Linked DNA regions of Homo sapiens: all the other regions are linked to region 1. Evidence: promoter capture Hi-C in 16 types of primary human blood cells and fetal thymus (Javierre and others, 2016). All regions are on one chromosome and are shown on one strand. Each heading gives the region's core, a stretch centred on a gene start or on the middle of the fragment in contact. The rest is flanking DNA. Distances are from core to core; before and after follow the strand shown.

Region 1 (4,301 bases), core at 1,259-3,758:
TGCACCAGCATCCCTGTACTCTACTCACGAGATGCCATTAGCATCTCCATTCAATTGTGACTATCAAAAATGTCTTGAGATATTACCAAATGTCCTCTGGGGATCAAATTGTCCCTGGTTTAAATACACAAAGAGATCCAAATCCACACTTGTGATAAAATAAATGCAAATTTTAACAATAATGAGGTGACACTTTTTTCTCTAATTAGATTTTCATCATTAACTATTTTGCGGTTAGCCAACAAGTGGGATTAGAGGATCTCATTTATCCTTTTGGGTGTGCAACCCTTCTGGGGGGTCATCTGGAAATATCTGTCAAAATATAAAGTGCATTTCCTCTTTTTTCTTTTTGAGACAGACTCTCACTCTCTCTCGCAGGGTGGAGGGCAGGGCAGTGGCATGATCTCGGCTCACTGCCACCTCCGCCTCCAGGTTCAAGCGGTTCTCCTGCCTCAGCCTCCTGAGTAGCTGGGATTACAGGTGCCCGCTACCAGGTCCAGCTAATTTTTGTATTTGTAATTTTTGTAATTTTGTAGTTTTAGTGGAGACGGAGTTTCACCACGTTGGCCAGGCTGGTCTCGAACTCTTGACCTCCAGTGATCCGCCCGCCTCGGCCTCCCAAAGTGCTGGGACTACAGGCGTGAGCCACTGTGCCCAGCCACATTTACTCTTTGATCCAGCAATTTCACTTCCAGGAGTTTATCCTACATATACACTTATATATGTGCAAATAGATAAATACAAGTATAATTATGGAAGCAAAAAAAGAGTATCCAAAAAACTGGAAACAGTCTAGTATCCAACAATAGGGAACAGGTTAAATAAACAAAGGTATATTCATATACAGGTTGAGCAAACCAAATCTGAAAATCTGAAATCCGAACACGTCTGGAACCAAGCATTTTGGATAATGGATACTCAAGCTGTTACAGAATATTATGCAACCATTAAAAAGGAGGAGGGGCCAGGCGCAGTGGCTTACGCCTGTAATCCCAGCACTTTGGGAGGCCGAGGCAGACGGATCACGAGGTCATGAGATTGAGACCATCCTGGCTAACATGGTGAAACCCCGTCTGTACTAAAAATACAAAAAAATCAACAGGGCGTGGTGGCACGCGCCTGAAGTCCCAGCTACTCGGGAGGCTGAGGCAGGAGAATTGCGGGAGGCGGAGGCTGCAGTGAGCCGAGATCATGCCACTGCACTCCAGACTGGAAGACAGAGCGAGACTCCATCTCAAAAGAAAAAAAAAGGAGGCGGAAGATCTGCCATGTACTAAAAATGTATGTCCCTGGGCACAGCGGTGCATGCCTGTAATCCTAAATACTCCAGAGGCTAAGAAGGGAGGAACATCAGCCTGGGAGTTCAAGGCTACAGGCCAGTCTGGGCAACATGGGAGACCCCGTCTTTAAAAAAAACAAAGAAAGAATGTCCCAAGACATACCAACTAAAAGTAGCAAGACCAAGAATAGAGTCTGCTGCTATTTTTAAGAAAGGGTATGTGTGTGTGTGTGTGTGTGTGTGTGTGTATCCGGATGTATACAAATTATGTTCATACATGCACGAAATAGAAACGTAAGTAACTGGGGAACTAGATTTTAGGGATGGGGAGACTCACTTTTTACCCTATACTCTTTGAACTGTTTTAAGTCTTTGGCTATATGCCTGCATGTTTCAGGCAAATTACAAAATCTGACAACACGTCACTCAACTCAAGATACCCAGACCTTACATAAACCAGAAAGTAGAATGGTGGTTGCCAATGTACGAGCGGAGGTGGGGAAGAGGAGTTGTTTCATGGATAGAGTTTCAGCTTGCAGATGAAAAAAGTTCTGGAGATTGACTGCACAACGATATGAATCTACTTAACACTACTGAAGTGTACACTTAAAAAACGGTTAAGATGGCAGATTTTGTACGTATTTTAACACAATTTTTTAAGGTGAAAAAAAAATCCCCCAAAGATACCCATGTTTTAAGATCGGTTTAGTTTCTAATTTGGAAATCATTTTTTAAACACTCCATTATTACTCTAGAATTGAGCGTCAGGAACAAGTGAAAACTCTTTAAACTCTGGAGCTGCTCCTGCGACCTTTCACCTAGAACTCACACGCATTCGGCCAGGCACGCACTCCTGCTAAACTCAGGGAGGGCCGGCACTGGGGGCGGCGTGGTGACTCCCCCTCGGCCCTTTACCCGTGGAAAAGGTTTCTACACTGCTGCCATCCTGTAATACAAAAGTTTGTGTTCCTTTTCACACGTTACCGCAGATTCTCGGTGCACAGTGCCCAGCGCGGACCAGAGCTCAGAGCGTGCCCAGGCAGTATCCTTGACCTCCCACAGCCGGGCCGGCCAGCCCGGGCGATCCGCGGCGGCCCCACCGAGACGCGCCCTTCGCCCGACAGGGTCTCTCCCCGCGCCGCCCCTACCCCCTTACCCGGTGTTGGGTAACATGACTTTCGTAGATCAGAGGAGGTGGCGGCGACAGCGGCGGCGGCGAGCAGAGAGCTAAAGCTGGACCGTCCCTCCGCATTTATCCCCGCCCCTGCCCCGCCCCTGCCCCCCCCGATGCCTGTGCGGGAACTGCGCGCGGAAAAGCCGGGATCGCCGAGTGCGCCTGCGTATGCAGTGGGCCTCCTGCGCCCAGCGTTCCTCTTCGTCGCCTCCCAAGCCTGGTCCCTGATTGCAGGCTCTCCGCGCAGGCGCTTTGAGGCACAGCTCCGCCCCGCCCCCTCACTGGTCGTACGGTGACAATCAGGCTCCTGTCGGCGCCTAGCGTCTGGGCAGCGTCAGCCGCTACGTCCACCTTTTCCCTGTCTCTAGGGGTTTCTCCTCGCGCCGCTGTGTTCCAGCGCCGGCTCCGAGCTGGGAGGGTGACTGAGCCCTGAGCTTGGGCCCTCCGAGAGGTGCGTTAGCTCTGGGTCTTCTTGCCCCTACGCCCGAGCCTGGCGTTCTCTCGGCCCCCTCTTAGGAACGCTAGCCCTGGGCAGAAATTGCCTTTGTGGCTGAAGTCGGCCAGCGTCGCGTTTCCACTCTCCCGCCGAATCTGGACCCAAGCCAGCCTTCCCTTGTGCATCGGTAGATAGCTTGTGTTAAGGCGCCAGCTTCTTGGAACAGAGCTCTCTGCAAAAGTCGCGCTGAAGAATTCATAGTCAAAAGCTGAACTTGCAGAAGTTTCTACTTCTGGAATGAGTGTTGAAATGAGATCAATTCTGACATTCAGTTTCGCTTTTGGGATTATGCCTTGGACTAACTCAGCTACTCTGATGAGCTAAAGACTGTAGTATATTTGAAGGAAGACACGAGGAACTGTTTTGTATTTTGTAGGGATAGAACAGGACCTTGAGGAGATTATTATATGAAGACTAGTTAAAGAAACTAGCCTGGAGATGGCTTATGTACTCTCTCCTTTGTTTTTGTTTTGTTTTTTGAGACGGAGTCTCGCTGTCGCCCACGCTGAAGTGCAGTGGCGCGGATCTCGGCTCATTGTAACCTCCGCCTCCCGGGTTCAAGTGATTCTCCTCCCTCAGCCTCCGGAGTAGCTGGGACTACAGGCATGCATCACCACGCCTGGCTAATTTTTTTGTGTTTTTAGTAGAGACGGGGTTTCGCCATGTTGGGCTGGCTGGTCTCGAGCTCCTGACCTCAAATGATTGGCCCGCCTCGGCCTTCCAAAGTGCTGGGATTACAGGCGTGAGCCTCCGCGCCCGGCCTCTCTCCCCTTTGTTATGGGCCCTAAATGACTCTATTTCCTCCTGCATATCACCTGCCCGACTCCTGTAGGCATTTGAATTGATGATTCATGATACGGTCTTTAGAGGCTCCAGAGGAATTTGCAAATTATTATCATCCACTAAGTGATTGCTGATTACCTGAGATACAGCAGCTCAAAAAGGACAAGGTCTCTGCCTATGGGAGGTATGAGTAGCCAGTGTGTTCTTTAGACTGTTGTTAAGCATTAGGTGTTTTAAGAAGAGTGTTGATAGAGACTGTTAGATGAAAATAACTTACTCTCCTCTCATCCTTAGGAGCACTTGCTGAAGCGTGTATATATCTGTCGAATAGAGTGAATTCTTAGTAACGGGGTGACATTTCCTTCATATCATCTAAAATGTTCTCTCCTTTTTGAAAGCCACAATATCTTCAGTCTGTTAGAGCCTCCTTTCTTGAATTTGTGTGCTTCTATTTCCATTTGTTACGGAAAGAGAGCTCAACGAAGAGGCAAAGCAAACAAAAAACCTTTGCCAATTTTTCAGTCATAACGATATTTTGTGAGCCTAAATACCTGTACTTACACTATTTT
Region 2 (4,243 bases), core at 745-3,244, 410 kb before region 1:
TGATCTAGTCTCAGAGGAGCCTGACAAAGCCTCTCAAGGCATCTTTACGTTAAGGGTAAAATGATGGCTCTCTGAATACACAGACTGCATATTACTTTTCTTAATTTACCCCCCTCGTGCCAGGTACACAGCAGATGCTTAAAGAATGTGTTGGCCACGCGCAGTGGCTCACACCTGTAATCCCAGCACTTTGGGAGGTCGAGGCGGGTGGATCACGAGGTCAGGAGTTCAAGACCAACCTGACCAACATGGTAAAACCCCATCTCTACTAAAAATACAAAAATTAGCCAGGGGTGTTGGCACACGTCTGTAATCCCCGCTACTCAGGAGGCTGAGGCAGGAGAACTGCTTGAACTTGGGAGGCGGCGGGTGCAGTGACCTGAGATCACGCCACTGCACTCCAACCTATGCGACAAGAGCAAGACTCCATCTCAAAAAAAAAGAAAAAAAATGAATGAATGTGTTCTATACAAACTGAATATTCTTGATTGTTGATTTTGTTGTAAAACTAAAGCTAAGCCCACTTTGGAGAATAAACTCAAAGGGATAATCTCAAAAATGTTCTGTTCAAAGATGTTCATGATACAAAGAACACAGAGTGAAACCTAGAAAAATCCCAAAGGCTCAATAACCAGGAAGCGGTCATGTTTGTATGTGTAATGTGACACACTTGTTTAAAAAATTAGAAAGCTAGACCTCTAGATAAACTCAGTGAGTTGAACACAAGCCTCTGCGTTCTCCCTTTTTCCACCCTCCAGATACTAATTTAACCTAGAGAATGAAAGAAAAAAAAAAAAACAAAAAACAGTGGAGGTAAAAAGAACAAGAAAAACAGTGACTGGAGTCATATCAATACTGGAAATGAGGAAAGGGTGCCATCCAAATGCCAAAGGTCTCAAAGGCTGTCTACTGGTTCTACCTGGGCCACAACTGAAAAAAGAACCCAGAGGAATCTAACCCATGTCACCGAAGTTACTTCAGGTTATTGAGGTTACTTAATAAGTAGAAAATGTCCTTGAACCCCCTTTACACGCACGCTAATTTGAAAGTGTGATTGTCAGTGGGGAGTAGAGGACATGGAAGGTTTGGCAGTGGGGCAATCCAGGACCACCAAGGAGTTGGCTGCTGTGACTGTGACCAAGGGGATGCCAAGCACAGGCAAATACACCAAGTGTGGGCCACCAGCAGAGGGCACCCCGCCCACATGGCCTTCTCCCCCCGCATGATGGGTAGAGATGGAAGCAGCAGCTCATAGGAACATGAAGGCATCTGGGTTGGCTGCCCTGGGGTGTGTCCAACAAGCCCAAAGCAGGCCAGACTGCAAATGCTGGGGGGACTGAGCTCTACTGAGATGGGGGGAGCAGCTAAAACACAGAGAAAGCCAGGCTTCTTTCCCATCTGACAGATAACTAGTAATCTATGGATCTAAGACAATGCTAACAACATCAAGTAGAAACACAGAGGATCCAATATAATCCACTTGTTCTGATGGGGGCAAATAGCAGGTCTGAATTATTATCTCATCAGAGGCAAGTAAACCATAAAAACAACTCAAAATGGCATTAGCTCATCACTCAGACCTAAGAAAACCAAAACACAAAAAAAGCAAGAGTCCTCAATAACAGATAAACATGCATTTGAAAAAGATGAAGCCCATAAAACAGAACCCTTTAGGCCAGACTTACTCTGTGTTCCCATTAAAAGAAAAAGAAAAAAAAAAGCCTAAAGAAAGTGGAAAGAGAATCTAAAAATGAAAGCATAAATTAAAACAGAAAAGAACAAAAGTTATAAACAAAAGCAAAATTTAATTCTTCTGAAAGATGAATCAGATAAACTAAAACTTAGGAAATCTGAACAATATAGAAAAAGGAAAATGGCCCAGGTGTAGTGGCCTCAAACCTATAATCCCAGCACTTTGGGAGACCGAGGCAGGTGGATTGCTTGAGCCCAGGAGCTCAAGACCAGCCTGAGCAGCATGGGGAAACCCTGTCTCTAGTAAAAATACAAAAAGTTAGCCAGGCGTGGTGGCTCAAGCCTGTAGTCACAGCTACTCAGGAGGCTGAGGCATGAGAATTGCTTGAACCTAGGAGGCAGAGGTTGCAGTGAGCAGAGATCGCACCATTGTACTCCAGGCTGGGCGACGGAGAGAGATGCTGTCTCAATAAAAAATAAAAAAAGAGGAAAATGGAAAAAGGGAACAGGCAATAACTATTTAGAACTTGTGTCTATGTATGATTGTAAATTAAAAGGTTGTGCTGTGAATAACTATGCCAACAAATTTGGACATCTATATGAGCTAGCTGGCTTTCTAGGAAAAATTATGTGATCAAGGTGAAATTAAATAGAGAGAAAAAACCTAAACAGATAAATAACCACAAAACTGTTGTCAGAGAACATCCACGAAGAGGTAAGCTGGGTCCCAAGTGTTTCACAGTGAGCACTCATGAACCTTCAAAGAGTAAGTCCTACTTTATTCAAATATTCTAAGACATAATTTTAAAATGCAGAAACCTTTCAAATCATTTCATGATGACTATCTATATCCGGTATCAAAATATTAGGACAAAAAAGAAAACTGAGAACAAGCATAAACATCATTAATAAAGTAACAACTAACAGTACACTAAAAGAATTTTTGGAAAAAAAATATATACCAGGATCAAGTCAAATGTATTCCAGGGAAGCAAGAATGATTTAACATTAGGAAATTTATCAATACAATTTATTACATTAATAACATTACTTCATTACACTATATTACATTAATATACATTACTTCAACCACTGTTGAAGATACTCATGTCCAAAACTACCAAAATATTTACTGGCATCACTCATATCAGCCATTCCATTTAAATCTCTAAGTAAAATTAAGAAGTAAAAAGAAAGTTCCCGGCCAGGTGCAGTGGCTCATGCCTGTAATCCCAGTACTTTGAGAGGCCAAGGCGGGTGGATCACGAGGTCAAAGATTGAAACCAGCCTGGCCAACATGGTGAAACCCCATCTCTACTAAAAATACAAAAATTAGCTGGGCGTGGTGGCACACACCTGTAGTCTCAGCTACTTGGGAGACTGAGGCAGGAGAATCGCTTGAACCCAGGAGGCGGAGGTTGCAGTGAGCAGCGCAATTGCGCCACTGCACTCCAGCCTGGCGACAGAGCAAGGCTCCGTCTCAAAAAAAAAAAAAAAAAAAAAAAAAAAAAGTTCCTAAATATGTTTAAAAGTATTTATCAGAAAACATCAGCAATTAATCTTGAAGACATTATTCTAAGTGAACGAAGCTAGATGAGAAAAGCCACATGCTATATAATTCCATTTATATGAAATGTCAGAACAGGCAAATCCTGAGAGACAGAAAGCAGACTTGGTTGCCAGGGGCTACAGGTAGGGGGAACAGGGAGAGCCAGCTTAATAAAGACCAAATTTCTTTTTGGGGTGACAAAATATTCTAAAATTAGATAGCGATGATGGTTGCACAACCCTGTGAATATACACTCAATTATATACCTTAAAATGGTGAATTTCATGCTCTGTAAATTATCTCCAATAACAATAAAACAATAAAAAATGTAGTGGACATATTTTAAAAATGAAGACCTTTTAAATCACAAAGCCATGTCCACTACATTCAGATATAAAGTATTTGCCATAATTCAAAACCATTCTGGAAAGTCTAGTTACCGCAATAATATAGAGAAGAATACTTGAACTCATACAGTGATCTGCCACATGAGTTCATGGCAATAGGTCAGGCTCCTCCCAAATTATCTAAAATTTGTAATATACATAATAGGGAGCAAATGTGTTTAAAGCATTTTTAAATGGTAAACATGAACTGCTATATTTACTAAATGTTCTGGGAAAGAAGTGGAGGACAAAGACTATATGGTAGATTGCATTAGTGTTCATAATTATGAACTTCCCATCCTTTAAAAGGATCATATATTCTTCTTATTGCCAAGTGACTTCCCACAGGAAGACACATCCCCACCACACTGACTTTGGCCTTGGACACGTGACTTGCTCCAGCCACTGGTACATGGTACATGAATGTACATCGGATCAGAGCAGATCCTTTAAGAGCCAACGCATGCTTCCACCAGCTCCCTTGCTCCTCGACTTTGAAAGTAGTGTGTCCCAAACAGGGGCTGCTCCTTTGGAATGGGAAGACTTGCAGGAGAGGGCCAGAGAAGCTGACTCACAGCCACTGACACACGGCATGACCTAGAAATACATGTTTGTT
Region 3 (4,102 bases), core at 1,550-4,049, 480 kb after region 1:
ATGTGACTCCATAGTGCAGTCAAACTTGACAACCACAGGTCTAGAAAGACTGGGTGACTGAAGAATGGAAAGGCCTATAATCCCAGCACCTGTGGAGGCCGAGGCAGGCAGATTGTTTGAGCTCAGGAGTTCGAGACCAGCCTAGCCAACACGGCGGAACCCCGTCTCTACAAAAAACACAAAAATCAGCCAGGCGTGGTGGCATGTGCCTGTAGTCCCAGCTACCCAGGAGGCTGAGGTAGGAGGACTGCTTGAGCCTGGGAGGTCAAGGCTGTGGTGAGCCATGATCGCACTACTGCACTCCAGCCTGGGTAACAGAGCGAGACCCTATCTCAAAAAGAAAAGAAAAAAAGCCAAGGTGGGAACATTTTTCTTTTTTTTCTGAGGCAGAGTCTTGCTCTGTCACCCACACTGGAGTGCAGTGGCACAATCTTGGCTCACTGCAAGCCCCACCTCCTGGGTTCAAGCGATTCTCCTGTCTCTGCCTCCCAAGTAGCTGGGATTACAGGCGCCTGCCACCACACCCAGCTAATTTTTGTATTTTTAGTAGAGATGGGGTTTTGCCACGTTGGTCAGGCTGGTCTTGAACTCCTGACCTCAGGTGATCTGCCTGCCTCGGCCTCCCAAAGTGCTGGGATTACAGGCGTGAGCCACCACGCCCTGTCTGTCTCATTTTTAAATAACTTCTTTTACAGTTCTGTTTTCAAATTTGGCTTTTGCAAGAGGGAAGCCTGGGATGCAGGGAAACCCACTGGAGACAGGTAAAGGTTAAACAAGGAGGGTGGGCTCCTTCCCCTTCAGATGGCGGGAAGCAGCCTCTGCAGCAACCTTAATACAGCTCCTCACAAGTGAGGCACAAGAATTTCACTCGGCTGGGTACAGTGGCTCATGCCTGTAATCCCAGCACTTTGCTGGGCTGAGATGGGGGAATCACTTGAGGCCAGGAGTTCAAGACCAGACTGGCCAACATCATGAAACCCCACCTCTACTGAAAGTACAAAAATTAGCGGGGTGTGGTGGCACGTGCTTGTAGTCTCAGCTGCTTGGGAGGCTGAGGCACAAGAATCACTCAAACCCAGAAGGCGGAGGTTGCAGTAAGCCGAGATCGCACCACTGCCATCCAGCCTGGGCAACAGAATGAGACTCTGTCTCAAAAAAAAAAAAAGAGAGAATTTCACTCTAGGTTTCTAAGGAAGAATATGAATTCCACAAGGGCAAAAGTTCACCTTGCTTAACAACCCCAGAATGTGTTGTTTTTATAATTCCGCTGTGTGGTTCTGCTGAACCAATTTATCTGACTCTAGGAATTTATCTTCCCTGCTCCAAGTCACAAAGCTTGTTAGTATTTCGTGTAAAATTAGGTTCACTGCTATATCAGCAAGTCCCTAACTTCACATAGTCCATGCCAGCAATTTCCAGTGACTAATGACCTTTGTTATTGTTATCACTCATGACTATATTACTGTTTGTTTATAATCAGTATATCATGACCAATTTACTACCTGTATCACTTATTTCAAAAATGGTATTGCTTCAAAATGGGCTTCATAAGCAATATAAAGCACACCTTCTTGTGCAAGCTTAACCTTGCTAACACAAATTCTCTCACAGAAGGTAAAATAACCAATAGTGAGTTAGCTCTATAGGAAAACACAAACTCTGCCCACTGGACAATGGGCTTACTACACTATAGAATGTAGAAGATTCCACCACCATAGAAAACAAATAGGAGATGGCTGGGTGCCATAAGGGGCACCTAACCCAATAAGGAACTAAAGTCTAAAATGACTTGAACGAGTAGGAGTTAATTAAGCAAGATTTTTGGAAGGAAAGAAGGAAGAGAAAGAAAAAAGAAAGAAAGTAAAGACAATTCCAAAGAAAGCACATTGTACATTTGGGGAAATGCCAGTAATACAACGTTGCTGGTTCAGCTCCTACAGAGCTGTGCTTGTCTCATTAAGGAGTTTGAACTGTAACCCGGAGGCAATGAGGATTCATGGTAAGATTTTAAGCTACTGTGATCCAAGATTAGTAATCCAGAAGGATAAAGGCTACAATAAGAAATATAAAATCGAGGGGGCACAAGGCTGCAGCTAGAGATACCAGCGAGTAGACATAGCTTCAACATCTAGGATAGATATGAAGGTGTGCTGAACTAACTAATGTCAGAGAGAAAGGCAGGGATAATGAATCAATAGAACCATCACTGAATACTAAAATCTTGCAATTTCCACTTTGCTCTTTTTCTTTTCTTCAACTTTTAAGTTCAGGGGTACATGTGCAGGATGTGCAGGTTTGTTACGTAGGTAAACATGTGCCATGGTGGTTTGCTGCCCAGGTCATCCCATCACCGAGGTATTAAGCCCAGTATCTATTAACTATTCTTCTTGATGCTCTCCCTCCCCACACTGCCCCTCACTTTGTTCTTTAAAGCTATCACACTATAGTCTAATTCCGTATCTTCCCAGGCTCAGGTTAAAGGGGCTGAATTGCTGGACTGCCTTATTCATTTCCCTGAAAGTAGCCCTGTAGCAATGATCCTGACTGATGAACGTTTGACCACAGTCCAAGGGCATTGGCAGGACTAAACCCAAAAAAGACGTTCTCAATTTACATTCCACTAAGGCTTGGAACACCAAGTATTCATGAATTTAAGGCAAAGATCGTACTAACTAAAAATAATATCCCAAATGCTAAAATTTACATGAAAAACATAACCAGTTTTTGACGGGTAGTTTATCGCAGTTATCCTGACACAATGAGTATGCAAATTCCATTCAAAAACTGTGCATCAGGTATTGAAGTTGCTGTACATTAGAGATAGCATATTTGGGTTGGGCGCAGTGGCTCACGCCCGTAATCCCAGAACTTCAGGAGGCCAAGGTGGGGGGATCACTTGAGCCCAGGAGTTTGAGACCAGCCTGGGTGACAAAAATTAGCTGGGCGTGATGGCATGCACCGGTAGTCCCAGCTACTTGGGAGGCTGAGGTGGGAGAATTGCTCGAGCCTGGGATGTGAAGCCGTGATCGAGCCACTGCATTCCAGCCTGGGCAACAGAGAGGACTGTCTCAAAAAAATAACAATAAACAAAATAAAGGAAATACGTTTGTAGAAAGCAGAATTAACTTTAAAAAAAACTTAAAAAATCTCCAGGGGGCCAGGCATGATGGCTCACACCTGTAATCCCAGCACTTTGGGAGCCAAGACAGGTAGATCACTTAAGTCCAGGAGTTCAAGACCAGCCTGGGAAACATGGCAGAACCCTGTCTCTACAAAAAGCACAAAAATTAGCCAGGCATGCCTGTAGTCCCAGCTACTTGGGAGCTACTTAGGAAGCTGAAGCAGGAGAATCATTTCAGCCTGGGATGCGGTGGTTGCAGTCAGCCAAGATCGTGCCATTGCACTCCAGCCTAAGCAACAGAGCAAGACCCTGTATCAAAGAAAGAATACACACACACACACACACACACATATACATATACACCTCCAGGTAAAAAAGGACCTCTGTTTTACTTGAGGGTAGCTAATATTTAAGGACACATAAATTATTTCCACACTAGCCTAGCACCTCCAGTCGAAAGATAAAGCCTGATGATAAACATTAGGACCTTATGTACACAGGGAAATAATAATAATATGAGGTGGATGGGATAGGGAAGAGAGCATGAAGCAAGGTTTCTGCTTAGATCACTTCATCACGCAGCAACGTGGCTCCCAAGGGCTAGAAGAGAAACACTACCATCAGGTCTAGGCTTTTATACAATTTCACCTTAGGCCCCAACCTATCAAGCCACACTAGCACTTACCATTAAAAAAAAAAAAAAAAATTAACCCATAAAGGCTATTTAACTTGCCAAGGCTATACTCTTTAGTTATTTTTAGGAAATCTTCAATCTCAACAATAAGACTCTTGAATTTGAAATGTCTCTAATCTGAATGTTACCTTTGACATTGTTGGCAGAAATCCTACAAACATCTGCCATCTAAAATAGGTTAAGAAAGGGCAATAGAAGCTTTGAAACATACCCAAGTATAAAGCAGAATTTAGTTTATAATAAAAATATTTCAAAACAGTGGAATAATCAAATAATCATCTGATAAG
Region 4 (3,980 bases), core at 660-3,159, 450 kb before region 1:
GGTGGGTGAGTCAATTACAAGTCTGAAGATTCATCAGGGTCATAACTTTGGCAAACACAGGTCTCCATGCTATCTTTCTGAACCATCTTTCTGCCAGAAAAGGTATCTAAGTTTGTTTACTAAATTATTGTTCCCTATGGATGAAGGGCAGTTGAGTCTATGTCTCCACTTTTAAAGCTAAAGTTAAGAGAGCATAAAAGAGGAAACACCTGGCGAATCAGCAGTGCTGGCCATGGGAAAAGCAAACACAAGGCTGACACAGCAGGACAAAGGACGGGGTGCAAAGTGACATTCCAGTCACAAGTAACTCCTCCCCTCCTTGTATTTCTTTGATAAGCAAAAGATGGCCTAGTTCTGTCACTCCAGCATTTTGCAGTTTGATTCTCTGTAGCACACATGAATGGCATTTCTGCCAATGTGGCTGCAGGGCATAATCGAGACCTCAACAGACAGCTCACCTATTTCTTCTTTGATGATCCGCTGGGCTATTCGATCAATGGTTCCCAGTTTGAGTGCAAATGTATCTAAGTAGTCACCTATGGCAGCAAACTCAAGCGGCCGAGTCCTCAGCTTGTAGCCGCCAGTGACGTGCTTGACTGACTCGCCCATTCTGGTCAGCAATGCTATCCCTTGCTTCTTGTAGGCGTTCAGGTCCTGAGGATGATATGTGAATAAGCTCAAAGCACTCACTCACTCACATGGGCAGGACTAAATAAAACAGCTTCTAAAAGCAGCTTCAGTTTGGAAATGGAGAACTCGGGAAACAAGGAGCTGAGTTAGAGGCTCTAATCACATTCACAGGAGGAACCTGGCCTGGACGTCATAACCACCAGACTCAGGCTCCTGTAGGTTGACACTTAAATCCCTTTCAGCAGAGCTGAACGCCAATCCTTAATCAAATTCACTCACCTGAGCACACTGCCCTTTAAACACAATGCTGTTTCTAACATAATTTTTTTTAAGTATCTGTTTCTCCCATACAAAGTACCCTATATTGTCTTTACAAGCAAAACTGAAGAGCAGAGGTTCCGAGATCCATCACTCATTTATTTATACCCCAACTAAAGCCATATAAGGGGAGTAAAGGGTGGAAAGCAGGAAACAGTGGCAGAAAAACATTGCTAGAAAACTCAGGCCTAGGATGGATGCTGTAAACAGCAAAACATTTTAACCCTGGATTTCTTGAAGGCAAAACTGGAAATATGTTGAGTTTCATAACCCATTGTATCTAAATATAAAGCTTATTAGCCAGGCTAGGCATGGTGGCTCATGCCTGTAATCTCAGTACTGTGGGAGGCTGAGGTGGGCAGATCACTTGAGGTCAGGAGTTCAAGACCAGCCTGGTCAACATGGTGAAACCCTGTCTCTACTAAAAATACAAAAAAAAAAAAAAAATTAGTTGGGCATGGTGGCATGCACCTGTAGTCCCAGCTACTCAGGAGGCTGAGGCACGAGAATCATTTGAACCTGGAAGGCAGAGGTTGCAATGAATTGAGATCGTGCCACTTCACTCCAGCCTGGGCAAAAAAGAAAAGCATATTAGCCTGCCTGATAAAACAAGCTTCCTCCTATCATCAAACACTAAGAGGAATCTATACAATCTTCAGGTTGTCCTGTGTCACCTACTGAAAGGGTAGCTTACAAAATGGTTTTACAGAAGGTACAGGTGTCTGTTCCTCATATCCACCCTCAATACAAACAGAATGTTAATCCCCAGACCTAGAAGGGTATAACTAGAGGGAGATAAAGGAACCCAGAACAAGGACACAGCTTTCTGGTGACGTGGCCTGATGCAGAGGATAGAGCAGAGAATGTGGAATGTGCGGCTAACATGGCCCAACAGCCCCTCCGCATTTGATGTACAATTTCAGGCTGAGGTCTCTATAGTATCTGAGTGTAGGCACCTCGTGAATTCACTTCCTTCTTCGCTTCCTTCTTTAGGCCTTCATTTTTGCTCTTGATCCAGCCTTTCCTATTGAGGTAGGTGTGTGTGTGTGTGTGTGTGTGTGTGTGTGTGTGTGTGTTTGTGTGTGTGTGTGTTTAATCCACGGTTCCTGGCTCATAACCTCCACAGACCTTGTTCCAGTCTTTTCACTATAATGTTGGGTGTGTTAAGCCTCAGGAAACAGAATCTCTCTGTCCTTCCCCTGCCCTCCTTTCACCTGCCCCAAGGCAGGACTCGAATCTTCCCCAGCCTTTCTGACTAAGGTCCCTCCCTACACCCTGGAGGATGGAATGCTGCTGTCACGAAGCTTCCACAAAAACCCAAGAGAGCTGGGTTTAGAGAACTTCTGGAGAGCTGAACATGTGGAGTTTCCTGAAGGGTGCTACACCCAGGGAGGGCATGGAAGTTCCACGCCCCTTCCCCCACGCCTCGCCCAATGCAACTCTTCATCTGTATCCTTTGTGATATCATTTATAATAAACTGGTAAATGTGTTTCTCTGAGTTCTGTGAATTGCTCTAGCAAATTAATGGAACCCAAAGAAGAGGTCACGGGAAGCCCAACTTGAAGCTGGCTGGTCAGAAGTTTTGGAGGCTTGAACTTAAGGTCCGAGATCTGGAAGCTCTCAGACTTGAGGACTGAGTCCTCAACCTGTGGGATCTGATGCTATGTCCAGGCAAATAATGTGCAAATTAAACTGGTGGACATCCAGCTGGCAATGGCTGCTTGGTGTTTGGGGAAAATCTCGCCCCCACCCCCACCCCGCAATTTGGTCACAGAAGTCTTCTCCTGTGTTGATGACAACTGTTGTTGCCTGAGAGCAGAGGAAAACCATGGTTTGAGAGTTTTTCTGGAACACCTATCCATACCTTCCCCCAACCGAGGGCCTTGCCCTACCAATTATCCCCTCTCCTGTCTGTATCTTCAACTTCTAATCCTTCAGCATGTAAAATACACCCAAGGCTGACCCATCTTAAAAACAGCAGCAATCTCCTCTAGTTCCTCTCCACCTCTCTCGTTTCCTTCAGAGTCAGGCTGCCTGAGAGAGTGTCCTAAAGATTCCATCTCCCCTTCTGACCTCCCACATTCTAGACAAGAAACATCCTCAAAGGCACAAGGCCTTCACAAGACTATAACTGAAGCCTCAGAGTTCTTGGAATTACCTCTGCAGACAGCGTTTTTACGAGTGGGACTAGAGTCAAATGGGCTCGCTGGACTGCACAGGCTCCGCTTCAAGTAGAGCTTTGAAAGCGTGTCCCCGTTAACCAAGTTAATTTACATGTTGAATAAAGTTATTCAGCAGTATCCATCTGATTGCTGTACCCACTCTGCCAAAGATGAAAATATTGACTTGAATATAGTTGCTATTGAGCGTCCCCATTTCTCCCAGTATTACTACTGGCTGCTGCTGCTGCTTCTTTTTAATATATAGAGATGGGGTCTCACCATGTTGCCCAGACTGAACATGAACTCCTGGGCTCAGGTGGTCTACCTGCTTTGGCCTCCCAAAGCGCTGGGTGTTACAGGCATGAGCCATTACATACAGCCTTTTGGCTTCTTCTTAAGGACATTTCTAATTTGTTGATAAACTCATGTGATCACAAAGAAAAGGAAGAGCGTCTCTGCATTCCCTAAGGCAGAACACGTAAGTGGCTCATCTCAGAACAAGATCAAGTTATTCAAGGTATGTTAAAGGAAAAAATGAGGCAGCTGGAAGAGGGGGAATAGGGTGCTGCCATTTAATGGGCATAGAGTTTCAGATCTGCAAGATGCAAACGTTCTGAAGATGAGCTGCATAACTAATTTAAATATACTTAACACTACTGAACTGTACACTTAGAAATTGTTAGGATAGTAAATGTTAGGTGTATTTTATCACAATTTTAAAAATTTTTAAAGAAAAGATAAGGCCATTTAGCACATTTTGTTCAGCAAGCGATACTGAATTAGGGCTAAAATTTGTTCTGTTTAAAGCCACCTCTCCTGTATTCACTCATATGGAGTCGGATTTTGATTAAGGCAGTAAAGGACCTTAT
Region 5 (3,885 bases), core at 745-3,244, 440 kb before region 1:
GCATAAGGGAATAGCATATCTTGGCTGAAGGGAAGGAAAAAAGCTCTTAGAATAACCAAACTAGGCAAGATCATATTTTCCTTCCACCAAACACAACAGCCAAATGGCAGAGTTTACCAACACAGAATAGACCAGTCTGGGACACTTAGCCCAGTTAAAAATTCAACGAGCTGGAATAAAAATGCCAGTTTTCCGAGATTGCACCACTGCACTCCAGCCTGGGTGACAGAGCGAGACTCCGTCTCAAAAAAAAAAAAAAAAAAAAAAAAAAAAAAGCCAGTTTTTTTTTTTTTCCCTACCGTCAGGAAATAGAATTCAACTATCCCCCAGAATTGTTTAGAAACATTTGATTCATTTCCTCCAAGCTTAACTCTAACAATTTCTTTTAGCAGAAAAAATCCACTTAGGATATTGCTACTAAATCCAAATCTGTGAAAAGAAATTGTCTCCACCTTCTGCTAAATATGCTGACAAGTTTTGCCAAAGAGGAAATAAACAAAAAGTAAAGATAATAGATCACTGCTCATTTCGGGGGCAGATTAGATGAAAATAGAAAAGGTTTTGCTTAATTTGCCACATTCTGCCAAACCACAACCCTGGAACTGTTATATTTTAGACAGATAAGAAAAAATCTAGAAATAATACAAAAATGCCATTGCATTGCAGAAAAATATTAATAATCTCATCCCTTTTTCTCAATTTTTAAAGTTTTCTGAAATGTGATTGCAGCACTTTAATAATGAAAATCAATGTTAAATAAAATTGAGTTGATTTTTACCAAAACAAGATTTTTACTCATTTACTGGCACAAATTACACCGTGTCTCACATAAGCCATTTTTCCCTATGAGGATACACACTATATGACTGTCATGGTTCTCAGAAATTAAAGTACAAGATAAAAATGGGTCAAGCTACATCTCATAAATTTACTCTTTCAAGCCAAAAGTCTGTTTTAATTCACAGCACCAAGAAAATCTTTAAGCACATGAACGAGAGTCATTCATCAAAGAAAAAGCTGTGAACAGCTCTAGCATCAAAAATTATGATTTCATCCTCCCCAAAACCTGTGTTCACTGTCTTAGCAAAATGGTGAAGTTCAAGGACTCATTCTTGGACTGACCCCCAACTAACTGCATTGTTTCCCCTCTTCAAGTCCCACACACCAGCATATGCCTATGAAACACGACCTTCCTCTGTGTTTGCAAGGGTGAAGATGTGGGGAAATTCACTCAATGTAGGTATTTGTGACTTATCAGATGATTTTCCCAAAGGAACTAGCATTGTAGGACTGGAGAGAGAGGAAAAAAGACAACACTTAAATCCAGAGAGCAAGTCATTGTTGACAAATTTTCAAGCACAGCATGACAGAAATATTGGGAACAAGTGGCCTGATACTCCCATCCCCACACCACCCGCACAGGCGGAGTAGGAAGGACTCTGCGCCTATGCAGTTCTTGCATCCCTACCAGATCCCTAACATGTCACTAAGCCTCCTTGAGCCCTAGGTTCAACAGTAAGAAGAGAGTTAGGGCAGGGCGTGGTGGCTCATGCCTGTAATCCCAGCCCTTTAAGAGGCCAAGAAGGAAGGATTAGCTTGAGCCCTAGAGTTTGAGACCAGCCTGGGCAACATAGCGAGACCCCATCTCTGCAAAAAAAAGTTTTAAATTAGCCAGGTGTGGTAGTGCATACTTGCAGTCCCTACTACTCAGAGGCTGAGGCAGGAGGATTGTCTGAGCCCAGGAGGTCGAGACGACTGCAGTGAGCTGACTGTGCCACTGCACTTCAGCCTAGGCGACAGAGTGAGACCTTGTCTCAAAAAAACAAAAGCAGGTTGGAAGGGAAGTTCAAGACCTCCCATCTCCCCCCGATAGGCTCCATGTGAGAACTTGCCAATGATTAAGGGCTAATGAAAGACATATTTTGAAAGGTGACAAATTAAAGCAACTGGTTTTCATTGTAAACCAAACTGATGGAAGGCTCTACTTTTTGCCTTCTTAAATGTTACACGATTATTGGCTGGGCGCAGTGGCTCACACCTGTAATCCCAGCACTTTGGGAGGCCGAGGTGGGCTGATCATTTGGGGTCGGTAGTTCAAGATCAGCCTGGCCAACATGGTGAAACCCTGTCTCTATTAAAAATACAAAAATTAGCCAGTTGTGGTGGTGGGTGCCTGTAATCCCAGCTACTCAGGCAGCTGAGGCATAAGAATTGCTTGAACCCCAGAGGGGGAGGCTGCAGTGAGTCAAGACTGCACCACTGCACTCCAGCCTGGGAAACAGAGCAAGAGACCCTGTCTCAAAAAAAAAAAAAAAAAGTTACACTATTAACTGATCATTTCTCTTATGTTTTTCAGATCCATTTCATAAATTACAGTTTATGTAATATTTCTACTCTAATTTGAAATCATTTTTGGTAACTACAAAAGACAGCACAATAGAACACACGTTTTATTTTTGCCACAACCAATTTCACTTTTGGGGAACAGGCTTTTTTTTTTTCCTTCTATTTATTCGGGTTATATACTTATTTTAAAACTTCAAGAAAAATAAATAGAAAATAAAAGATCAGCCATAATCCCTCTAAATACAGAAAAACACAATTAACATGGTTTATATGTTTCCATATTTTTCTACGCATATTCATTCATTTACTCATTGTCTGTATCTCTTTTAGCACATCTTGGACATCTTTCTGCAGCAGTAAGTTCAGATGTACAGTCATTTTAACACATACATAGTATTCCACTGAATGGTTACACGATAATTAAACCAAATCCCCATTTAAGTTGTTTCCAATTTTTCCATCAATAAACAATACTTTTGTAAACACCATTGAGCACCTCGTAATTCCCTTAAAATAAATTCCTAAAGATAGAATTGCTGGACAAAAGTGTACATATACTTTTTAATTGACAAACTGCTTTCAGAAATATAGCAATTTATATTCTTACCACGTATTCTCAGGAACTAGTTATCTTTGGTGGACTGATAAATGAAAAATAATACATCATCTTTGTTTACAGTTGTTTCTTTAATTACTATTGGGGTTGAACATCCTTTCAAATGTTTATTGGCCAAAAGAAGAAAAGTATTTTTCTTCTTTTATCAGGGGTCTTTTTAAAAATTATAAGTCCAGCCAGGCGCAGTGGCTCATGCCTATAATCTTAGCACTTTGGGAGGCCGAGGCAGGCAGATAGCTTGAGTCCAGGAGTTCAAGACCAGCCTGAGCAACATGGCAAAACCCTGTCTCTACAAAAAATGCAAAAATTAGCCGGGCATGGTGGCATGCACCTGTAGTCCCTGCTACTCAGGACGCTGAGGTGGGAGGATCGCTTGAGCCTGGGAGGCAGAGGTTACAGCTAGCCAAGACTGCACCACTGCACTCCAGTGTGAGCCACAGAGTAAGACCTCAACTCAAAAAATAAATAAAAATAAAAATAAAAATTGAGTCAAGTCTTTTTCATTTGTGTAAGTTCTTTATTACCATTTGCCTATCATAATTTCCAAATGGTTTGTCTGATACAGAATCTTTCCATTGTTTTATTGTTGATTTCATCCATATTTGCCCTTTATGCTACTTTTGGGGTCTTCAGTAAGAAGGCCATCCCCACTGCAAGCTTATAAAAATATTCACCTATAGTCTCTATGATTTTCTTTTCTAGTTATGTCTAATCACTGCTTTTCTACTTCTAGGAATCTACCATTGGAAAATAATGTCTAAACTGTGGCAAGGATATTTGCATAATGATCTTCATTGCAATATTATTTAAATCAGCAAGGAATCAAAGCAACCTAAATATTCAATAATTAAAAACTATTAATGAAATTATGGCATATTTATTCTATGGCTGTCAGTAATTTTGTTGGTAAGACTTTTTTTTTT
Region 6 (3,783 bases), core at 409-2,908, 390 kb before region 1:
AATATATGTAAGTCTTAGCTACTTGGGAAGATTGCTTGAGCCCAGGAGTTCAAAGCTGCAGTGAGCCACAATCACGCCACTGCACTCCAGCTTGAATGACAAAGCGAGATCCTATCTCTTAAAAAAAAAAAGCAAATAATCTTCTTTGTAGCCATATAAAGTATGTTGTTCATATGAGTTATGACTATCAGTTATGAGAAGAGATTTTGGACCCTATTGTACATAACCTTATTAAGCTATCAAAACAACCTTATGAGACAGGTACTATTATTAACCCCATTTTATGGATGGGACAACAGGGTTCAGAGGAGGTAAGTGATTGCCAGCCAGTAAGTGATTATATTAGAACTCCCTTGGCCAACTCTAAAGGCTCTATTCTCTCTACGCAGCTGCAACGGCCTCACACCTACATTGCTCTAACCAACCTCTCTAACAATTCTCAACTTCTTTACACAGTGTGCTTCCTTGCTTTGGAACAAGAGGTGGTAAGTATGCTTTATTCATTTAGCTTCTGGCAACATTGTTTCTCACAATTAACAGATTAACAGATTCTCTTGACCCATTTACTGCAACACCACAAATCTACAGATAGCTGGGAAGTTCCTTGATTCACGAATAAATCAATAGCAAGACTTTTCAAGTAGCCTTTTCATAATTTAAACACAAGGAGAATTTAAAATGGGAAATGTGTTTTTGTTTTAAATCAAGGAGCAAACACGCCAGGATCAACACTTGAAGACATATTCGTTTATGTAGTAACAAAACTGGTTTATGTGAAATGCAAACATTGCTTTCATAACTTACGATCTTGGGATACTGCAATGTATCTTTAATAAACATTACCCTTTCTACTCACACTCAGTACTGGGTACAGCAAAATCTAAGAGAATTTGAATGATTTGAGAAAAGCAAAATACAGTGGCTACCTTGTTCTTCAGAGTCAGACTGGAAGTGAAGATGTGACCATTTTGCTCAAACCATGGCAGGGGAGACACGCCTAGATATCTCCACACGCACACACGAGTACCACAGCCCCACACCTGTCAATCCACAAATCTAAACAATGTCTAGCCTATCATACTATATGAGATACTTTCTAGGTTACTCAAAAAGCTTCAAGAATACCTAAAATAATGTGCCAGGTCTCCCAGCACACCTGGAGAGGAGGATCTGGTTACAGCAGAAGAGTGAAGGCAACTCAACTGCATCCTCTTACAAAGAGGTGTCAGTCTAATCCCCAACAGAGCCACCTCCCAGAAACACTTCTTCCATTTCCACTTGTTGACAAGTTGGTCGTTCCTCTCTCTGGGGAGAAACTGAAATGAAGCTAGAGTAACCCCTCACTAGAATAAGGATTGTTCTAAAGGAAACCAGAACAGAGCTAACGTCACCGGGCTGAAAACACCTCTTCCTCTTTCACGGAGACTGGCAATGTTCTAGGCAAGGAAAGTCCTCTGCCAGGAAGGATGAGGGCAAGGGCATGAAATGGGGTCCAATAAAGTCTGGACAACTGTGAAACAACCGAAGGTTTGCCCCTGCTCCATGACTTGAACCAGGAAAAAAAAGAATGTCTCAAGCCAGAACAAAAAGTTCACAAAATTGACCACAGAGGGAAAGGGTAAAACTCACCACAAGCCAACATTCACCCATATTTGACCTGAACAGATTTGAAAAACTACCAGAAAAGCACTGTCTCTTTTTTCCCTTTGTCACAGTTTAGCCTTATCTCTTTGGGGTTTTGAGCAGTTATGAAAATGTGGCTGTTATCCCTTCTCAAAAACAGTCATAACTGCTCAACAGGACTATGAGTGAGAGCCCTCACTGGCCCCTTTTTTTGAAGCATGATCAGAGTTTGTTTGGTATCAACCATTATTAACCAAATTAGAAAGAGAGAGGGAAGATTCTTTCTCCCTAATTTGGTCAAATAGCCACCCGGGGAGACTATACTCTTGAAGGCTGGGAGAAGGACCCTTCTGACACAGCAATGCTGCATCCTTCCAAGGCTGGCAGACATACTGACATAAATTCTTTCACACACACGCAAGACAGACTATACACGATTTATACATTTTTTCAACTTAACGTTTTTTTCCATTGTTGCATATAAGTATATACAGGGCTGCCTTATTCCTTTTAATACCACATTTCAAAAACTACCATAGTTTACAAAACCAGCACCCTACTAATAGCCATATAAGCTTTTATCTTTTGCTATTAAAAATAATACTGCAACAGGTATCCTTATACACACAGCATTTAGCACGGGTCCATTTATTGAGTCACCAAATATCTGTATACTCCACCCATACCAGGTTTGGTTCATGCATGGAAATTTAGCAATAAGCAAACCAGATCAGGCCCCTTGCCTTCAAGAAGTTTACAGCACAGTACTGGAGAAAGTAAACCAAGTATGTCTGGTGGTTTAAGTTCTGCGAAGCAAGATTAAAGCCAGGTAAAGGGGGAGAATAACTGGGCAGGGAGGGGTCTGCTACTAGTTTGTTTTTTGTTTGTTTGTTTATTTGTTTGTTTTTGACACAGAGTCTCACTCTGTCACCAGGCTGGAGTGCAGTGGCCCGATCTCGGCTCACTGCAACTTCTGCCTCCTGGGTTCAAGAGATTCTCCTGCCTCAGCCTCCTGAGTAGCTGGGACTACAGGCACGCGCCACCACGCCCAGCTAATTTTTGTATTTTTAGTAGAGATGGGGTTTCACCATGTTGGCCAGGATGGTCTCTATCTCTTGACCTCGTGATCCGCCTGCCTCGGCCTCCCAAAGTGCTGGGATTACAGGCGTGAGCCACCGCGCCCGGCCAGGGGCTGCTACTAGTTTATACAGGGAGGTTGGGGGAGGCCTGAATGAAATAGATGAACAAGCCTGCAGGCTGTCTGGGCCAAAAGGCGTGAGGCAAGGGAGTGGGCAGGGGGAGAGAGAAGTGGACGGAGGCCAGAGAAGCAGCAGAGCCAGATTACCCATGTACTTGGAGCCCATGGAGGATTTGAGGGGAATGTGTGAGAACTGAGAAGTCTCTGGATGGTTTCAAGCAAAAGCAAAAAAGAGGCCAGGCGCGGTGGCTCATACCTGTAATCCCAGCACTTTGGGGGGACGAGGTGGGCAGATCACAAGGTCGGGAGTTCGAGACCAGCCTGGCCAACATGGTGAAACCCCATCTCTACTAAAAATACAAAAAATTAGTCGGGTGTGGTGGCAGGTGCCTGTAATCCCAGCTACTCGGGAGGCTGAGGCAGGAGAATTGCTTGCACCCAGGAAACAGAGGTTGCAGTGAGTCGAAACCGCACCACAACACTCCAGCCTGGCCAACAGAGTGAGACTCCATCTCAAAAATTAATTAATTAATTAATTAAATTTAAAAAGCAAGAGACATGATGCGACTGATGTTTCTTATGTTTTAAATAATCCCTCCGGTTGCTGCCTGGATATATGACTGAAGGTGGGAAGGTGGAAGCAGGAAGACGAGTCAGGCGGCTGGTACAGTAATGCAGGCAAGAGGGGATGACAGCAGTCAGGGTAGCAGCAGTGGAGAGAGTGAGAAGTGATGAGATTCTGGACATGGTATTTCAGAAGCACTTGCTGATGGCTTAGGTATGGGATGAAAAAGGGAAGAGCCGAGGCTAATTCCAAGGCTTATCCTTGGAATTAAGAGTGAGCTAGATAACTAGCTTGACATGCCTGTTGGAGATGCAGGGTTAAACATCAAGAAGGCAGTGGGAGACAGGAATTTGGAATTCAGGAGAGAGGTTTCTGGCCTGGAGTTATCAGTGTGTAG
Region 7 (3,763 bases), core at 705-3,204, 460 kb after region 1:
CTATTTTCTCTGTGAGTATCAGATTTCCACACAGGAATGGAACGTGATTATATTGAACAGAGATCTGTACACTGAAAAACATATGATAGTAAATAATTTAAGATAGCAAATATGAAGAATGAACATCATCTCTGACCAGCTGATAGATCTGTAATGGTCTTGATTAACTCATAGGAGTGCAACATTTATGTTCATTTTCTAATTTGCATTTTAAGCTAATAAAAAATTTAAATTATTGCCCAATCTTTAGCAAACATCTCATATCATTTTTACATGACCTTATTTTTCATTTCCTCCAAGTCTTTAAGAACTAAATCTACCGTATAAAGAAAAGTTGTATTTGGACCTTAAATACTCATTCTAGGTCAGTGCTTCTCAACTGGGGGCAATTCTGCCCCACAGGGGACATCCGGCAACATCTGAAGATATTTTTGCTTTTACTACTGAGAAGGGGGTACTACTGGCATCTCATGGTAGAGACCAGGCATGCTGCTAAACATCCTACAAGACAGCTCCCACAACAAAGCCTAAAATGTGAACAGTATTGGGGTTGAGAAGCTTAAGGCAATTAGAATATAAGAAAATATTATAGAACACTGAAACTATTATGAGTGTTCGAAAATGCAAGTTATAATTTCAGTATATGAAAGGCTTCTTGCTAAAATCATTTAAGTAAAAAGTCATGTGTATAGTCCGATAAGTGTATGTGTTTTAGTAAAATATGCACCTATTAATTTCTGTCCCTTTGTGAGACGGTGTATTACGCAAGCCGAAACACATTAAAGATAAGTGTCAGGCAAACAAGGGAAAAGTTACACCCATGGGAAAGCTTGCAGATTATATAATGAACCACAACCATTTTTAATTTAATGGTTGAAATTTTCTCTTCAAAATGAAAACATTTTAATACATGTAACATTCTAGTTTAGGATTAAAAAAATCAAAATCTTAGTAAGCATAACTGGACATATTACCATGAAATGATGATGAAATAAATTACTCTTTTAGGCAAATAAAAAGAACTCATGAATGTATCTGAGATTGCTTTTAGCATTTTATCTTCAAATTAATAGTTTTATAAAATAAATAAGAAAAAAACCTCACCTCTTATTCCACTATCACAAATCCATATAAGATCATACTTTGCAACTTCATATCCTGGCATTAAATTATTAATTTTAGGATTAATGCCAACTTTTTTGCCACCTAAAAATGTAAAGGTACAGTAGTAAAAGATTTATGCAACATTAAAAATATTTTATAGTATAAAGATACATGATAGAAATGAGAATACTTGCATATTTAATAATTAAACATACTTTCATATTATTTAACATTCTCTATTATTCATAATAATATATTTAGGAAAAAACTGTCCATTCTCAAAAGGAAAACTGTATCATTTATCTTTGAAAATTCACTGTTTCACTTTTTCTAATTCTTAAGTCCTTGCCTTAGTAGTTAAGTATGAGTCAATATTTAATGGCAATTGTACAACATGGCAACTATAGGTAACAACAATGTATGGTATACTTGAAAATGACTAAGAGTAGATTTCTCACCACAAATAAAGTATAAGTACATGAGAAAGTATATAACAACATGTTGTTTACTTGAAAACTGCTAAGAGAGATTTCCCACCATGAATAAATATGTGTGGTAATGCATATGTTAATTAACTTAATTTAGCTATTCCACAATGTGTACATATATATATATTTCAAAACATCGTGCTGTACACCAAAAATATATACAAATTTTATTTGTCAATTTAAAAAATAATCCTAAGGGAAAAAGCTACAGGCGTTATTTTGAAGCTATAATTAAAACAGTATAAATTCATAAATACAGTAAGATTATATTTAATAAAGGTTTATTAAATGTAAACACACATGGCCAGGCACCATGGGCTCACGCCTGTAATCCCAGCACTTTGGGAGGTCGAGGGGGGTGGATCACCTGAGGTCAGGACTTCGAGACCAGTATGACATGGCGAAACCCCATCTCTATTAAAAATACAAAAAAATTAGCTGAGCGTGGTGGTGCCTGACTGTAATCCCAGCTACTGGGGAGGCTATAATCCCAGCACTTTGGGAGGCCGAGGCAGGTGGATCACCTGAGGTCAGCAGTTCGAGACCAGCCTGACGTGGTGAAACCCTGTCTCTGCTAAAAATACAAAAAAATTAGCTGGGCGTGGTGATGCACGCCTGTGATCCCAGCTGCTCAGGAGGCTGAAGCAGGAGAATTGCTTGAACCCAGGTGGAAGGGGTTGCACTGAGCTGAAATTGTGCCATTGCACTCCAGCCCGGGTGATAAGAGCAAAAAATTCGTATCAAAGAAAAAAAAAACCAAAAAAACCCCATAAATATATGACAGTAAATAATTTAAGATAGCACATGTGAAGAATGAGCATCTCTGACCATGAGCTGATAGATTTGTAATGGTCCTGATTAATTCGTAGGCATGCTACACTTATATTAATTTTCAAATTTGCATTTTAAGCTAATAAAAAATTTAAATCATTGCCCGATCTTCAAATAGCAAAGATCTGATATCATTTTATACGACTTACTGGTTTTTTAGAGAGACCACATCAGCTCTATGTTAAAAAAAAAAAAACACTAATGGCAAACACACCTCTACAAGTCTTTCAAATAAGCCTGTAGGCTTTTGGAAAAATACCCTTCTTGTAATGTAATAAAAGTGAATTCTATCATTCACTCCAATTATAGTCAGTAAGATACAGAAAAGGCCACACATTTAAAATATTGAAGAAACAAAAAATAACAGACCCTCATGTCTGATTAATGGGAAAAATATTATTTTGTGTGTGATTTTGTTCATCTCAGATATGAAAAAAAAAAACCTTTGTTTTTATAACTTTTCTCAAAAGGACGTAAACACCTCTCAGTACTCCAACAAACATGTTTAAAACAAACATGGCTAACACCTTAATCTTCAGTTCAATGCAGAGATTACTGATACTTAATACTATCAATGGAAAATGGTTACTACAGAATTTGTTACTTACCTATAAACAATCTAGCATCAACATTTGGATATTTTCCAAGAAGCTTCTTACATACATCAATGGCTGGATCATCATGATCTTGTACACAAAGGAGCACTTCATACTAGTCAAAAAGCATTGTATGTAAATTAAATTCTTTAAAAAAATAAGCACTTACTAGCATGTATTGATTGAACAAAAAGCACAGGAAAAAACAAGCAACTGTATTATGCAAAGTTTTAAAAGAGAGCATTCACAATGGATGCAAACACTTATGATAACAAGTGTTGCTTTAATGGAGTGAAGCTTCTAATTAGGAGCCTATCTGCAAGCAGAATAAATAAGGAAGAGACTGGCAGTGCCCACAACTGCAGTCTTGCCATTCCCAGATAGGAATCTCCTAGTTAATCTCCATTAACTGGATCTCAAGCTTGTCCATGGCCATCACTACTGAAGATTTACTAACTGCTCACAGGGTGCCTAGCAGAGTAAAAAGTGACATCAAAAGGAAGCAAAATAAACACAACCTCTCTCTAGAAGCTTTGTCTCTATACTTAATATTATTTCATGAAGGTGCAACAAATTTCATATAAAATCCCATTATAATAAATTTAAAGGGCCCTTCCAAATTCATCACATGAAAAGGACAAAGTAAGATTACCCTTTTTTGTTTCATAACTTTTTGAAACAAAACAGAATTTGATTTGAATGGACATTTACGATCTTGAAATGCATGCTTAGCCTTGTAACTAT

Evidence for each region. The method cuts DNA at HindIII sites, captures the fragments that hold promoters and counts their contacts. A CHiCAGO score of 5 or more calls a contact.
Region 2: a fragment that was not itself captured here is called in contact with the fragment with the promoter of HSDL2 in region 1 in 5 of 17 cell types (total B cells, naive B cells, fetal thymus and 2 more); the score reaches 8.9 in total B cells.
Region 3: a fragment that was not itself captured here is called in contact with the fragment with the promoter of HSDL2 in region 1 in 6 of 17 cell types (neutrophils, erythroblasts, megakaryocytes and 3 more); the score reaches 7.3 in neutrophils.
Region 4: a contact is called between a fragment that was not itself captured here and the fragment with the promoter of HSDL2 in region 1, in 2 of 17 cell types (naive B cells and total B cells). The highest score is 5.7, in naive B cells.
Region 5: a contact is called between a fragment that was not itself captured here and the fragment with the promoter of HSDL2 in region 1, in 3 of 17 cell types (naive B cells, total B cells and megakaryocytes). The highest score is 8.0, in naive B cells.
Region 6: a contact is called between a fragment that was not itself captured here and the fragment with the promoter of HSDL2 in region 1, in 1 of 17 cell types (megakaryocytes). The highest score is 5.2, in megakaryocytes.
Region 7: a contact is called between a fragment that was not itself captured here and the fragment with the promoter of HSDL2 in region 1, in 1 of 17 cell types (fetal thymus). The highest score is 5.2, in fetal thymus.

The regions. Positions count from the first base shown.
Region 1 is chr9:112,378,315-112,382,615 of GRCh38, reverse strand. It overlaps HSDL2 (hydroxysteroid dehydrogenase like 2), which reads right to left and starts at 2,508. Exons shown (of 11, transcript NM_032303.5): 1 at 2,436-2,508. The coding sequence starts at 2,452. It also overlaps a transcript of PTBP3 not described here. RefSeq lists a silencer at 2,305-2,554 and enhancers at 2,775-2,894, 2,326-2,925, 2,925-3,174, 3,275-3,324. The HindIII fragment of the contact is 10,070 bases long and covers 1-4,301 here.
Region 2 is chr9:112,790,360-112,794,602 of GRCh38, reverse strand. All of the region lies in intron 1 of SNX30 (sorting nexin family member 30), which reads right to left. Among named protein-coding and RNA genes, the nearest start is that of SNX30, 42 kb to the right of the region's middle. The HindIII fragment of the contact is 5,421 bases long and covers 1-4,243 here.
Region 3 is chr9:111,899,846-111,903,947 of GRCh38, reverse strand. The region is part of intron 1 of UGCG (UDP-glucose ceramide glucosyltransferase); the gene reads right to left. Among named protein-coding and RNA genes, the nearest start is that of UGCG, 5.1 kb to the right of the region's middle. RefSeq lists an enhancer at 90-189. The HindIII fragment of the contact is 2,433 bases long and covers 1,583-4,015 here.
Region 4 is chr9:112,832,888-112,836,867 of GRCh38, reverse strand. SNX30 (sorting nexin family member 30) reads right to left here. Exons shown (of 9, transcript NM_001012994.2): 5 at 459-654. Among named protein-coding and RNA genes, the nearest start is that of SLC46A2, 56 kb to the left of the region's middle. RefSeq lists a silencer at 3,473-3,673. The HindIII fragment of the contact is 691 bases long and covers 1,564-2,254 here.
Region 5 is chr9:112,813,792-112,817,676 of GRCh38, reverse strand. The region is part of intron 2 of SNX30 (sorting nexin family member 30); the gene reads right to left. Among named protein-coding and RNA genes, the nearest start is that of SNX30, 65 kb to the right of the region's middle. The HindIII fragment of the contact is 3,254 bases long and covers 368-3,621 here.
Region 6 is chr9:112,769,743-112,773,525 of GRCh38, reverse strand. All of the region lies in intron 1 of SNX30 (sorting nexin family member 30), which reads right to left. Among named protein-coding and RNA genes, the nearest start is that of SNX30, 21 kb to the right of the region's middle. The HindIII fragment of the contact is 1,085 bases long and covers 1,116-2,200 here.
Region 7 is chr9:111,922,220-111,925,982 of GRCh38, reverse strand. UGCG (UDP-glucose ceramide glucosyltransferase) reads right to left here. Exons shown (of 9, transcript NM_003358.3): 3 at 3,032-3,134; 4 at 1,105-1,206. Among named protein-coding and RNA genes, the nearest start is that of MIR4668, 8.0 kb to the left of the region's middle. The HindIII fragment of the contact is 2,245 bases long and covers 832-3,076 here.